Linked DNA regions of Homo sapiens: regions 1, 2, 3 and 5 are each linked to region 4. The links are contacts of gene promoters, found by promoter capture Hi-C in blood cells and fetal thymus (Javierre and others, 2016). All regions are on one chromosome and are shown on one strand. The core of a region is centred on a gene start or on the middle of the fragment in contact, and the rest is flanking DNA. Distances in the headings are between cores, read along the strand shown. Region 1 overlaps RER1 (retention in endoplasmic reticulum sorting receptor 1). Region 2 holds the start of PANK4 (pantothenate kinase 4 (inactive)). Region 3 holds the start of PRXL2B (peroxiredoxin like 2B). Region 4 holds the start of C1orf174 (chromosome 1 open reading frame 174). Region 5 has its middle 2.5 kb from the start of FAAP20.

What was found. Contacts are between HindIII fragments. The CHiCAGO score rates a contact against its expected background, and 5 or more counts as called.
Region 1: a contact is called between a fragment that was not itself captured here and the fragment with the promoter of C1orf174 in region 4, in 1 of 17 cell types (neutrophils). The highest score is 6.0, in neutrophils.
Region 2: the fragment with the promoter of PANK4 here is called in contact with the fragment with the promoter of C1orf174 in region 4 in 1 of 17 cell types (neutrophils); the score reaches 5.9 in neutrophils.
Region 3: the fragment with the promoter of PRXL2B here is called in contact with the fragment with the promoter of C1orf174 in region 4 in 1 of 17 cell types (neutrophils); the score reaches 8.6 in neutrophils.
Region 5: a fragment that was not itself captured here is called in contact with the fragment with the promoter of C1orf174 in region 4 in 1 of 17 cell types (non-activated CD4 T cells); the score reaches 5.3 in non-activated CD4 T cells.

The regions. Positions count from the first base shown.
Region 1 is chr1:2,396,155-2,398,854 of GRCh38, forward strand. RER1 (retention in endoplasmic reticulum sorting receptor 1) reads left to right here. Exons shown (of 7, transcript NM_007033.5): 3 at 962-1,066. Among named protein-coding and RNA genes, the nearest start is that of RER1, 5.7 kb to the left of the region's middle. The HindIII fragment of the contact is 1,851 bases long and covers 332-2,182 here.
Region 2 is chr1:2,525,239-2,527,938 of GRCh38, forward strand. It overlaps PANK4 (pantothenate kinase 4 (inactive)), which reads right to left and starts at 1,358. Exons shown (of 19, transcript NM_018216.4): 1 at 1,226-1,358. The coding sequence starts at 1,349. RefSeq lists an enhancer at 1,385-2,105. The HindIII fragment of the contact is 7,457 bases long and covers 1-1,755 here.
Region 3 is chr1:2,585,381-2,588,080 of GRCh38, forward strand. PRXL2B (peroxiredoxin like 2B) reads left to right here and starts at 1,397. Exons shown (of 7, transcript NM_152371.5): 1 at 1,397-1,568; 2 at 1,711-1,915; 3 at 2,361-2,412. The coding sequence starts at 1,506. RefSeq lists an enhancer at 2,205-2,700. The HindIII fragment of the contact is 11,388 bases long and covers 1-2,700 here.
Region 4 is chr1:3,898,918-3,901,617 of GRCh38, forward strand. It overlaps C1orf174 (chromosome 1 open reading frame 174), which reads right to left and starts at 1,355. Exons shown (of 4, transcript NM_207356.3): 1 at 1,255-1,355. The coding sequence starts at 1,269. LINC01134 (long intergenic non-protein coding RNA 1134) reads left to right here and starts at 1,487. Exons shown (of 4, transcript NR_024455.1): 1 at 1,487-1,714. RefSeq lists enhancers at 447-1,017, 1,018-1,586, 1,587-2,156, 1,796-2,055 and silencers at 1,106-1,175, 2,256-2,435. The HindIII fragment of the contact is 4,148 bases long and covers 55-2,700 here.
Region 5 is chr1:2,195,969-2,198,668 of GRCh38, forward strand. It overlaps a transcript of FAAP20 not described here. Among named protein-coding and RNA genes, the nearest start is that of FAAP20, 2.5 kb to the left of the region's middle. RefSeq lists an enhancer at 1-438. The HindIII fragment of the contact is 4,227 bases long and covers 1-2,700 here.

The sequences.
Region 1 (2,700 bases), core at 7-2,506, 1.5 Mb before region 4:
AGATGCGGCCGTGGCTGCCGTTCTGCTCTTGCTGTCCCTCTCCCAGCCACCCACGTCCCCGGTGCTGGTAGCCCCACCTGCCCCGTGTCAGCTCGGCGGTTCTGTCCTTGAGGGTGAGAGGCTCTTGTGTGGGCTGCGTGTGCATTGCTTGGTGAGTGAGGGACCTAGAGCTGCCTTTGAACGCTGGAGTCCGAACCTCTGTCAGGAAAAGCTTGGGTCACCGGCAGTTCCAGGTGCTGAGGATCCGGCTCAAATAAAAATTCATCACCTTAATTAAATCACATATGAAAAGCGATTGGCGATTAATGAAGTTGGGTGACAGGCATATGTAAGCTTCTATAATCTTTTTACTTTTGTGAATTTGGAAATTTCTCACAATTTGAAAATTAAATTTCTAAATTAAAATAAAAAACCATACATATGTATATTTGTAAAAATAAATACATAAAACTAAGGGCTCCTTCGGTCATGTCCACAGCCGCCTGGACGCACACACATGTGGGTGTGGCTGCTGGGGCTCAGGCTGTGGCCAGTGGGCCTGGGAGCGGGGCAAGGCTGGCTGCTGGCTGCTGCAGATGGGGGAGCTGACTTGAGATGTGACGATAAGGGCTGTGCTGTAGGGTGGGGACTTTGAGATGCACAGTCCTCTCTTTGGGGTGAGGCTGGGTCTTCCCCATAGTGATCCCTTGGGGCCAGCACAATGTCACAGTCTCCTAGGAGATTGTTTTGTAATAGTCTTGCTTAAGAGATGAACCTGCTTCAGGAATTATTGAAAATAAACTTTGGATTAATTGTAGTCACTTCTTTGTGCTGATACATAGATGATCTCTTGCTATTTTAACTCACTCTTTTAGCTGTTTTAAAAATTGAAAGCCAACCCTAGCAGAAGGTACATTTTGTGGCAGGGTCAGTACAGAAGTTACAGGACCTGCTTCATGCTTTTGGACTCTTGTCTTTCTAGATTTATCAGTCCTGGCTAGACAAGTCCACACCCTACACGGCTGTGCGATGGGTCGTGACACTGGGCCTGAGCTTTGTCTACATGATTCGAGTTTACCTGCTGCAGGTAGGTGTGGGCTGAAGTGACGAGACTTGGCTCTGTCCACGTTACCTGGGCGTGATGTTTGTGGGGATGTTGTTGATCCAGTCTGTCTTGCAGGAAGTGGTCTCTAGTAATCAATTTTCAGCTAAACGCCAAATGTCAGAAAGATCTCAGTGACTGTCTTTAACGAACAGGGTTGTTTATGATTCACCCGGAGTCGCCTCGCCAGGCTTCTCAGTATACCCAGGCCGTCCTGAGCCCAGCCTGGCCCTGCCCTGGGCACGTCCAGGCCTGGACAGTGGAGCCGCTGGTGTCCCTCCGACCCTGCTGCATGATGCTCAGGACAAGGTTGCGCTCTGTGGCTGCCTCATTCCTTGGGTGAAGAGTCCATGCCTTGGGTGTCATGAATGACTCGGCGTCCAAAGGGTTTATGTAGCTTTTCCTGAGCTCTCCCTTGTGTGAGGCCAAAGCACAGTGCAGGTTGAGACGCCGAGTCAAGTAAGAGAGACAGTGACCGAAGGGGGTCTTGAGGGTTTCCTTCGTGTGTTTTCGGGCACCCCTAGGTCAGGTGATGTCGTCTCAGACTTCACCTGGGTGCTCCTTTACTTGCTGGTAAACACGGGGTTTCTAGGAGCAAACCTGTAAGATGGGAATTCTTCGTCGGTCTTTAGAGGAGGTTACATAATCTTATGTGCAGAGCAGGGCATGTTGAAAGCCTTGTCTGGGCTATTTTCTCCTCTGGGGACTGTAGAAGATACTTCCTTGTTTAAAGCACACACCTTAATTTATTTATTTATTTTTGTTTTTAAATTGGAACTGGGTCCATTCTCTGATGGAAAGAATGACCTAGAAATCTTGAATCAGGGACTTCAGGCAGGAGCAGGGGGCGGGAAGAGTGCAGCACCCACAGGTCAGTTTTATTGCGTTCGAAACCAAGCTCGTGCCTCATTTGGCGTCTCTTCAGGTGTGGCCCTGCAGCCGAGGATGGACACACAGACATCAGTTAGCCCTCACATCCGGCGTTCAGCCGAGGATGGACACACAGACATCAGTTAGCCCTCACATCCGGCGTTCAGCCAGGGATGGACACACAGACATCAGTTAGCCCTCACATCTGGCGTTCAGCCGTCTGACTGGAAAAGCTTTTAGGCAGAAAGACTTCTTGTTTGTATAAGAAAGTTAAAGCATTTATATTTTTATTTATTGTTTTGAGATGGGGTCTCACTCTGTCGCCCAGGCTGGAGTGCAGTGGCCTGATCTTGGCTCACTGCAACCTCCACCTCCTGGGTTCAAGTGATTCTCTTACTTCAGCTTCCCGAGCAGCTGGGATCACAGGCATGTGCCACCATGCCTGGCTAATTTTTGTATTTTTAGTAGAGACGAGGTTTCACCATGTTGGCCAGGCTGGTCTTGAACTCCTGACCTCAGGTGATCCACCCGCCTTGGCCTCCCAAAGTGCTGGGATTGCAGGCGTGAGCCACCACACCCGACAGAAATTTAAGGCTTTTGAAATTGAGAATGCGGTTCTGGCTTTTAACGGGATATGCTTAATCATTTTAAAAAATGAATTAGTTGCAAATAAGTGTGCTGCACTCAGGCATCTTGCCAAAATTCTCCCCACTTTTCATCTCTTGAGGAAGGCTTGGCATAAGCACACT
Region 2 (2,700 bases), core at 108-2,607, 1.4 Mb before region 4:
CTCTCTGAGTCCCAGCTTTTCCAGGGAGGTGGGAAGCAGTCAGCGGCAGGCCCATTCATCCCAGTATTTACTGGGCGGCAAAGACAGGTTGGGCATCCTTTTCGGGGGCTGGGGCTACAAGACACACCGCTGCTCTTGTGGGATTCACACACAAGCAGACTCAGCCTACGACCGAGATGAGTGCTAAGAGGGAGAGGTATGTGAAGCCGCAGCGGCTATTCAAGGGGGGTTTCTCCAGGTGAAGCTGCCCCCAGGAAGCCCTCATGCCTGAAACATGGGCAGAGTAGGAGAGCAGGGAGTGGCTGGTTCAAATCCTGGTTCTGCCACTTTCTAGCCCGATGACCCTGGGCAAATTAGTTCACCTTTCTGGGGCTTGGTATCCTCATCTGCGAAAAGGGAGTAATTCGCGTTCCTCCCCTAGAGGTGGCTGGGAGGTGTCCGGGAGTCAGGAGCGTGGGAAAAAGGTCTAGAACAGAGCCTGGCCCGCCGTCATTACTGAGAGCACAGCCATCAGGCAGGAGGGTCTGCAGCGGACCCTGGAGAGGCCAGGGCAGAAGTGCAGGCCGCCTTAAAGGCCACGGAAGGCACGGGTGGCTTTTAAACCAGAGGCACGAGTTCCCAGGTCCCACGTCCACGGCCGCCTGAACTCACGCCCGGCGTCCACTCTCCAGAGAGCGGGGCCTGTGCACGGACTGTCCGGCCCGCGGGCCACAGCTGGCCACGCCGCGGGAACGCGCGGCCTTTTCGGGGCCACTCTGCCAAGGGCTTCCCGCCGAGCTCGTCCTCGTCTCGACCAGAACTAAGGACCCCAAATCTCAGGCCAGCCACCAGCCAAGCGGCGGAGCCGGGGCGCCCAGATGCCGATGTGGCCGAAGACATAAAATTCCGCCGACCCTCCCACCTCGCGGCGGGTAACGCTGGACCCCGGCCCCCAGCCACCCAGGACGGCCGCGCGAACTACCAGGCCCGGCAGGCCCCGCTCTGGTCCCTGCGGCGCCTGCCGGTAGCTGTAGTCCGGCCGTCGCCCCGAGCCCGCGCATCAGCGACCCTGCGGACTACAAGGCCCGTGAGGCTGTGCGCGGGCCCGCGGACTACAAGGCCCGTGAGGCTGTGCGCGAGGCCCGCGCCCCCGCCCTTCGTCCTTCCCGCCGCCCCCGCTCGCCGGCCCACCGCCGGCGCCCCGCCCGCCCCCGCAGCCCGCGCCCGGCGCCCGGCCTGCGGCTACCTATGTCGATGGCGAAGCGCTTGGCGTTCTCCAGGTTGCGGAAGATCTCGTCGGGGGGCAGCGTGATGCTCTTGTCCAGACTGTCCCCGCTGCTCCCGCTGCCGCTCGCTCCACACTCCGCCATTTTGAAAGTGCCCGGCCAGCTCATCAGCCATGGAGATATATGCGCATATATTTGACTGCCAAACGCCCCCTCGCATAGATTATGTTAATGAGGCGCCGGCCCCGCCCCTTCCCTCCCCCACCCCCGGCCTCTGAGGTCTCGGCCGCTACAGGGCGAGCTAGGGCCAGTGCTGGGCAGGGGTCCGAGAGGCCCGGGGCTGCGGGCGGGCGGGCGGTTATCCTCCAGAGATCGCGCATCAGCACAGAACATCTGGACTGATGTTCTTTTACCGCGCTGTCCACAGGCTTAACTCAAGTGCTCTGAGCCCTGCTGAGGGAGGCCGCAGAGGCCGCCCACCTGCTTCTAAGGGGGCACGTGGGTCTGCAGACTGTCAGAGAGCCCTGCCCTTCAGCGAGTGCCTGCTGTAAGCTTGGCCCTGCACGCCAGGGCGAATGTGATGCGCTCTTTGCTAGGGTGACTCAATCCTGGCTTCCCAGGGGCGTGGGACTTTCAATGTTAAAAGTCCCATGCAAACCAGAGGAGTGGGGAACCCTGCCCCACCTGGGAGGAGCCCCAGCCTGGCATGCACCTGCGGGTAGGGAAGATGTGTGCTGTAATGGCGATCCGTGGAAAGTGCTGTGGTCGGGGGAAGCCAGGCAGGCTGCCTGTGGGCAAGACAGGTGCCTGGGAGGCTGCAGGAACAAGCCTTGGAAGCAGCTGGAGCCAGGACAGGGGTATAGGTGGGGCAGGCCAGGGTTCCAGGGTGAGTGGCTGGGAAGCCCTGCTGGCATGAAGAGATGCGTCTTCTCCAGAGGCTCTGGGCGCCTTGGGAAAAAGCCCAGTGTTGGAAGCAGACAGATCAGCCCCTCCCGGGTAACCCGGGGTCATTACTGCATGTCTCTGGCCCTCAGCCTCTGTCTGCACGTGGAGAATGCCACCAGCTGCCTGGCAGGGCTCCTGGGAGCACAGGCCTGTGGGGCGGCACAAACTCCAGGGATAATGCATCTGTGTGCGCAGGGCAAGCCTTCAGGGAGGAGGCATCCTTGCCTGTGTCTTCCAAGGGGGTGGGTGTGTGGCTCTGGAGGGGGAGCCTGCCCCAGGGAGGCCTGGGTGGAAGAGTGGAGCACACCCCAGGCGGCTTAGACCTCTGGCAGCTCAGACCCCTGGCAGCATGGTGTGCCATGGGCCAGGCTGGCAGGAGGTGCCCTCCATGAGGGGCGCCCACCTGTGTGCCCACTGAACATGCGGGAAACATGCAGGTGAATGGGGGCCTTCCCTGTCCTCTGCCCACCATACCCCGGGGCTCGGTAGGGACCACTGGCAGGCACTGGGTTGGTCTGGTGGGGGGACCCTGTCTAGACTGCCTGTGGAG
Region 3 (2,700 bases), core at 147-2,646, 1.3 Mb before region 4:
GTGGGGGGGGGCCCTTCCTGCCCAGCCCCAGATGGTAGAGGGGCCCCCTCCTGCACAACTCCAGAGGGTAGAGGGCCCCTCCTGCACAGCCCGAGACGGTAGAGGGGTAGCCCTGGTCTCTGGGGGCTGCACTCCTGGGCTCTGGAGCTGCCACAGCTCCTCCCTCCTAGTGCTTCCCCTTCCTTGTTTTGCTTTTTGCCCTTTCTGACATAGTGACGACTTCCGTTTCGCAGTCTGGACCTTCACCACCCCAGGGCGAGGGCACAGGCGAAGCAGCAGCACCCCCCCGGGGCCTCTCTTTATTTGGAATACAGTGTGGGGGCTCCCCCTTCCTTCTCCAGCCCGCCCAGGCCCCTGGAGCTGTCCTGGGGCCTGGGGAGTGAGGACCCGTGCCAGCAGCACAGACTCTGCCAGGCCGGGCCCGCTCAGGTGGGAGCCCAGGCCGGGTGAAGCTGTGACCCGGCCCTCACCCCAACTCGGTGACAAAAGCTATCACAGGGCTGCAGTGGGGGAGGAACAGGACGCATCTGCCAGGCACCTGACCCGCAGTGCACTTCTGGGAGCTGTGCTTATCTCCCCGGGGTCTATTTCGCCCCAAGGTTTGGCGGGTTAAAAGCTGATATGCAACCGGCACGACATGAACAGTATTTCATGATTAAAGACATCGCGTCCATGTATAATTGAGATGCTGCCGCATTTGCGGGGATTTTCAAGCGAAAACCAGGCCACGTGGAAAGGCTAAGCCCTCGCACCCCCCCGCCCCCCACTGCTGGGACCCCCGCCCCGCGGGAGACCCCGGCCCGCGGTCCCCTATGCCCGCGACCCCTGCGCTCACCCTCTCCCCTCAACCCTGAGTCCAGCCCAGTCTCGCGCGAGGCCGCAGGGAGACCCCCGCCGCTCCCTGGACCACCCCTGGGCCCACCGTACCCAGCCGCTCCCCGGCGCCCCCCGGGACGACCCCGAGCCGGCTGCCCGCCTCCCGCCGCATTCCGCACAGGCGCACCGCGCACCGAGGGCCGCACCGCCCAGCTCCGCCTGCTGCGCCAATGGCCGACGGGGTCCAAGTCGGCGGCCCAACGGAGAGGCGGGGCTAGGGGCGGGACCAGGACGCGGGACAGCAACTGTCCCGCAAGGCCCGGATTGAGGAGGCGGGAGGGACCGAAGCAGGCGGACCCAGGATTTGGCGCCGCGATCTCGAGGCTTGGCCTGGAGTAGGAGGGGAAACAAGGCGGGACTAGGGGCGAATCCGAGGGGGCGGAGCAGGGCTCGGGGTGCGGTCGGGGGCGTGGCCGGGGCGCGCTGCGGCCATCTTGGGGGCGGGCCCGGGGCGGAGACGAGCCCGAAGGGGCGGGGCCTCGGCGGCAGCAAGAAAGGCGGGACCGGGGCATCTCGGGGCGGGGCTTGGGGCTGGATCTATGAGCCGGGAGCGGGGATCCAGGAGCGAGGAGCCGGGAGCGGGGAACAGGGAGTCGGGGAGCCGGGAACCAGGGCTGGCAGCGGCCGCCATGAGCACGGTGGACCTTGCTCGCGTGGGCGCGTGCATCCTGAAGCATGCGGTGACCGGGGAGGTGAGGCCGGGTGGACGCAGGGCGGTGGGCGCGTCCCTGGCTCCTTGCCCGGGCGTCCTGGCAGCGATGGGGTGGTGGGGGCCGCGGGGCCTGGGCGGGGCTGGGGGCAACGGGGCGCGCCCATGACCCAGCCGCCCGGCAGGCCGTGGAGCTGCGGAGCCTGTGGCGGGAGCACGCGTGCGTGGTGGCCGGGCTGCGGCGCTTCGGGTGCGTGGTGTGCCGCTGGATCGCCCAGGACCTCAGCAGCCTTGCTGGGCTCCTGGACCAACACGGCGTGCGCCTGGTGGGCGTAGGGCCCGAGGCCCTGGGTCTGCAGGAGTTCCTGGACGGCGACTACTTCGCGGGAGGTGCGTCCTGTTCCCCGCCGCGGCGGCGCACATACCCTTCCCTAAGCTCAGGGCGTTCGGGGCCCTTTCCTGCCCAACCCCGGCCCTTCTGTCTGCTGGAGCGGCCTTGATATGCCCACGGGTCAGCGTCCCTCATCTCTCCCTGCCTCCCCGCCCCGCAGCTGGTGGCTGGGTGGTGCCCTGCACAGACCTGGGCCCAGCAGCAGAGTCTGGACGAGCTCTGCCCCGCCGGCTCCACCTGTTGCCTCTGGGACTCAGCCCCTCTTCTGAGGGGAGGGGGGACACTCAGCCCCGTTTTACCCCTCCCTGCCCTGCGGGGGTGGGCTGAGCACGGAGGGTGGGCAGAGGAACAGAGGGTCGGAAGGAGGAGGGCGATTCTTTGTGGTGAGTGGGTTGGGGGCTGGTTCTGCGCCTGGGGCACACACATGTGGCTTCCGCTTTCCAGAGCTCTACCTGGATGAGAGCAAGCAGCTTTACAAGGAGCTAGGCTTCAAGCGGTGAGTGGGGGCGGGAACCCTTGGGTAGCGTGGGGTGGGGGGCCCAGGGGTTCCCACCGCTCCCTGCCACCTCCTCTCCCTGCTGCCCTCTGTGGTGCTGTCCACTCGGGCCTTCCTGGGCAAGGCGGCTCTGGTGGCACTGTTGACCAGCCCTTCTGCCAGGCCTTCTCTTGGGTGCTGGGTGACTGTAATGAGCCACCTCGTCCGGGGCTTACTCTCGGTGTCCAGACCACCTCGTGGGGTGGAGCCTCGTGGCCCATCAGGGGCCATCCTAGCTTTCTGGTGTCT
Region 4 (2,700 bases), core at 105-2,604:
CCATATAAGAGTAACATTTCTGTATCACTTGGAATTAACCTAGTACAAATCTGAAGCTTAAGATGTATATGGAGAATATGAAGATTAAGCTGTATACGGTAAAACATAAAGCACTGGAAAAAACCCAAAAAAGTTGTGGAAAAAAAATCATTAAATTAAAATGCTACATTAGGAAATATTCACTTTAATCCACTTAAAGAAGGAACAGGGGAAGAAAAAGACAGACTTGTATAAAGAAAAGAAAAAGTAAAATGGCAAATGTAAACCTAACTACAGTGTATCAATAATATTAAATGTGCATGGGCTAAACAATTCAATCAAAAGGCAGAAACTACCAGACTGCATTTTAAAAAAGATCCAAGTATATGTGCCTACAGGAGACAAGTTTTGGTTCAAAGATAAAAATAGTAAAAGGAGTTGGAATTCACAAGTGGCCACTCCATTTGAACAAACCAGGAGAGCCTCCATGCAGCTCAGAGCCTCCCAAGTGGACCGGGACCCGCGCCGGGTCCACTGTGAAAAGGGTCCTTCGCCTTAACTGTTACACCCACGCAATGAGCACTTGCCCCTTGCCAGACACTGGCACCCCCCTTCAATCCTCACCACCCTCTTGGTGGATCCCTCATCACCCCACTTTTAGCACATTCAGTAGATGGGGCCAAGCTGAGGTCACTTGCTGTGTGACGTCCATTGGAGTGGCAGCAGTTGAGGGGCACAAACTCAGCTCTGCAGCATCTAGCACTACCAGGAGTTGAAACCAGTTCTGGAGAGGGTGCCCCACCTTCCTAGGAAAGTGGCCCGAAACCTCCCTTCAAGGGGGCGTGACCTGGGAGCCCCCTGTTGCCCAGGACGTGAACTGTGAGCTCCACTTCTCCCGAGGGCGTGGACCGGAGCCCCCCTTCTCCCGCGGGCATGGCCTGGGAGCTCCCCTTCTCTCGGGGGTGTGGCCCAGAGGCCCCATTCTGCGGGGGTGGGTAACCTGGGAGCCCCCTTCTCCCGGGGACGTGACCTGTGAGCTCCACTTCTTCCGAGGGCGTGGCCCGGAGCCCCCTTTTCACAGGGGCGTGACCTGGCAGCCCTCCTTCTCCCGGGAGCGTGGCCTGGAGCCCCCCAACTACTGCCGGGGGCGAGGCCCAAGCGGAGGCCGCTCCTAGGCCACAGGCACCCCGTGACCCCGCCCCGGTTCTCCAGACAGCAGGTGACCCAGAGTCCCCGCCCTGCCCGGCGCAGCTGCTGCCGGGACCCAGCCCTCACCTTCCGGCTCCTCATGAGTGTGAGCACCGCAGCCAAGCACCGCGCGCCCCGGCCAACGCGTCCCGGCGGAGCGGCGACCCGGAGTCTGCAGAGCGCGCCGCGGCGGCGTCCGACGTCAGCACAGCCAATCACAGTGCAGCACCCTCGTCATGTGATTCCCCCCCCCCCCCCCCCCGTGTTGGCTCTTTCGTAAGCGGCGGGCGAAGGTCACAGGCCTTGGGCCAGTGGTGGGACACTGGAGCAGGAAGTCGGCCTGTGGCCGGCCATGTTCATGAGGGCGCGTCCCTTGGCACCCCTGTAGCCGCTATGTTTCCCACGCCCGTGGCAGGCCTGAGAGATTATGTTTGCGGGGGGTGCTTTTTTTGTAGCTTCTGTGTTCGCCATATTTGAAAGGGGCAGACGGCCATGTTCGTGAACGGCGCTTCCCTTGGTGCACCTGTGGCCGCCATGTTTGAGCGAGGTGGGCAACTATGTTCTTGAGGGGGGAGCAACCATGTTCTTGAGGGGCTCTTCCCTTGAAGCCTCTTTGGCCACCATGTTTGAGAGGGGCAGACGGCCATGTTTGTAAGGGGCGCTTCTCTTGGTGCGCCTGTGGCCGCTATGTTTGAGAGGGGCAGGCAACCATGTTCGTGAGGGGCGCTTCCCTTGAAGCCTCTTTGGCGCCATGTATGAGAGGGGCGGACGGCCATGTTTGTGAGGGGCTCTTCCTTTGGTGCGCCTGTGGCCGCCATGTTTGAGAGGGGCGGGCGGGACGTCCGTGAGGGGCCCCTCCCCTTGCATCCCCTGGCTAACAGCCTGCAGGAGGGCGGGAAGTGCTTTCTCCAGTGCCGCAGAGCGCTGGTTTCTGAGTGCCGGTTAGCGGCCTTGAGCAGCGCGAGGGACTCCCAGGCCTGCCCGTGCTGCGGTCCCGCTGGGGAGCTTTGCGCGCTTGTCGCAGGCTGTGCTGCCCCGCGACATGCCGCTTTGGGTTGGGGTGGCCCGCCCGGGAAGTGGCCTCAGCTGTCCCCCACGTTGCGGGCGGGAGGGGGCCTTAGTGGAGGCCGTCGGTGGGCCCAGGAGGCCAGGGTCCGGCGTCGGGCTGGGGGCCGGTTTTCGTCCCCCGTTACGTGCAAGGCGGGAAATGACCCCTCCGCCGTCCCGTTACTCTCCGGGGCCAACGTGGACTCGCAGGGGCCACGCCTTTTCCAATGGCCACGCCCCTAGCAGGCCTGGGTGGACCCGCAGCGGCCACGCCTCCTCCAATGGCCGCGCCCTATCAGGTCTGGATGGACACACGGCGGCCACGCCTCCTCCAGCAAACACGCCCCTAGCAGGCCTGGGCTGCTGTGATGCGTCCTCTTTGGCCGCCGCTGAGGGAGGTGTTTGTAAAGCTGAGGACCACTGTTCTGTTGTGGGTTTTTTTGTTTGTTTGTTTGTTTTTTGAGACGGAGTCTCGCTCTGTCACCC
Region 5 (2,700 bases), core at 54-2,553, 1.7 Mb before region 4:
GGGGGCCTGGGGGAGCTGCTGCAGGCCGTGTGGTCTCAGGGGGCCCTGTGGGAGGTAGCCTGTGGCTGGGCCTGCTCTCAGGCGAGAGAAGCCCAGCCGTGGGGTCTCTGCAGCCCCACGTCCACCACATGGCAGGTGCCAGCTGACCAAGCGCTCTCAGACAGCCAGTGTCCAGGGCTCCCCGACAGTCCTGGCTGCCCTGGCTTCAGCTCCGAGCTTCTGGGTCTTTCCTGGAAATGTCACCATGGTCTGCAGGAGGGCCTTGGGTACTTCCAGGAAGACTGGTCCCAGCCTCCCAAGACAGGAGAAAAGGCCAGGCCCAGCAGCCCATGCCTGCAATTCTAGGACTTGGGGAGGTCCAGGCAGGCAGATTGCTTGAGCCCAGGAGTTTGAGACCAGCCTGGGCAACATGGCAAGACCTTGTCTCTATAAATAAAAAATTAGCTGGGCATGGTGGCATGTGCCTGTGGTCCCACCTACTTGGGTGGCTAAGGTGGGAGGATCACCTGAGCCCAGGTAGGTGGGGGCTGCAGTGAGGCAAGATCGTGCCACTGCACTCCAGACCCCAACTCAAAAAAAAAAAAAAATAGGCCAGGTGTGGTGGCTCAAGCCTGCAATCCCAGCACTTTGGGAGGCCAAGTCGGGAGGATCACTTGAGGCCAGGAGTTTGAGACCAGCCTGGCCAACATGCAGAAACCCCATCTCTACTAAAAATACAAAAATTAGCCGGGCATGGTGGTGCACACCTTTAATCCCAACTACTTGGGTGGCTGAGGCACGAAAACCACCTGAGCCTAGGAGGCATAGGTTGTGGTGAGCCAAGATCGCACCACTGCACAACAGCTTGGGCATCACAGCAAGACTCTGTCTCGAAAAACAAAAAAAGACAGAGGAGAAAAGCCCTTGGTGACAAGTGTTTGCTCAGCTCTCTGTGCCGTGCTGGGGGTGGTGGGGGGTGTTCTTGCTCCTTCCTCTCCCTTCCCCACTCTGGCTCCCAACCCCAGGGTTCTGCTGTTGGACCCGGGGGTGGCTCCTGCCTCCTCCTCCTCTATGGCCCCCACATGGTCCAGTGCCCTCCTGCCATGGGACCGGCCGGCCTCTGGATGGGCTCCGAGCCCCCTGGGACCCATCTCCTTCCCTGCCTGGGTCCCTTGGGCAGAGCCTGGGAAACTCAGGCCCCTGCCCTGTCCTGGAGGACCATGTGAGGGACACCTGTGTGTGGCTGCTGCCCCAGAACAGGGGCCTTTCTGGGCGGGAGGACCCAGCCCCCACCCCTGGAAAGCCAAACACTAGAGCTTTGCTGGGGTCTTCAGCATCCTTCCAGCCCCTCCCGGCTCCCCCATGCAGGTGCCCTGGCCACTGGGCCCAAGAGGGGCAGAGCCGAGCAGAAGCAGGGCGGGGTCTCAAGTGACCCAGACCCGGGACACCTGCGCTGCCCGGCTGGCGCAGGCTGCTTGGGAAGCTCTCGCTGCGGGTGCCCCAAGGGTAGGAGGCACGGGCCTGCAGGGGACCTCAGGGCTGGCTGAGCCTGGCTCCAGCCCGCATCACTGAAGCTGGGGGGCCCCCATCCCCTTGAGTCTTAGCCACCCCAGTGGGCCTCATTTACCCTTGGCCACCAGGGAAGAGGAGCCAGGGCCCCAGGCCAGTGCCATGGGGCAGAAGGCAGGGCCTCTGGGCCTGGTGCTTTGGGGACGCAGAGGCAGCACAACGTGTCACAGTTGTCCTCCTGGGGGCTCTTCCCCTCCAGTTTATCTGCTGCTCTGGATTAATCTCCCCTCCTCCCATGTCACCACTGGGGAGGGGGCAGTGGGGCAGGCCCCTGTGACCTACAGCCAGAGATAAGTCCACAGAGAAAGGCACTGGGGTGACCTCTGCTCTGGGCACGTGGCGGGTGCCTCCACTTGTCAGGAAGCCTGACCCCCAATCCCCTCCCGCCTGACAGCTTCCCGACAGCTGCCTGCCAGCCGAGGGCCTGGAAGGGGACCGGCCACTCAAGACTCTCAAGACAAGGAAGCATGTTCACCTCCAACAAACATACCTTGTCCTGCCTGTCCTCAAGTTATCAGCATGACACAGCGGTGCTGGTGATGGTGATGGTGGAGGTTTCAAAGTTGAACCTGATGAAAACGCTCCACTTCTTCGGAGCCATCTGCTGCTGTGGTGACGGAGTTTTGCTTTATTGGAAAATAATTTCTGGTTGGGACTGACACGTGCACAGTGGAAATGAGTTTTTTCTAAGCCAAAATTCATGTTTACAAAAGAACGTTTCAGCTGTGGGAGTTTGCATCCCAGGCAGAGCAGAAGGTGATCGAGTGGGTGGGGGCATCAGAGCCACCCATCTCCTACTCCCGCACCTGCAGACCGGTGGGCTAGGAGGCCCCTTACCCTCTGTGGCAAAAAAGGACACATTTATGGATGATGAATCAGGCCCCAGCCCACTGAGCTGGTTTCAGAAGCCAGGCTGGCCGTAGGTCAGGGAGCCAGGCCTCTCCAACTCCTTCCACCGCGGAAGAACAAGTGTCCCAGCCACTGGCATCCTCAGAGTCACCCAAATGTTCATCTCTGCCCAGCGCTGACACCCTGCAAATCAGGCTAAGACAGCGGTGACGGGCCCTGAGGCTGGCAGGCCTAAGCAGCCCGGTGGCCGTGCACCCTCCCAATTTCCAAATGAGACCTGTGGCCGACAGGCACCCTGGGCAC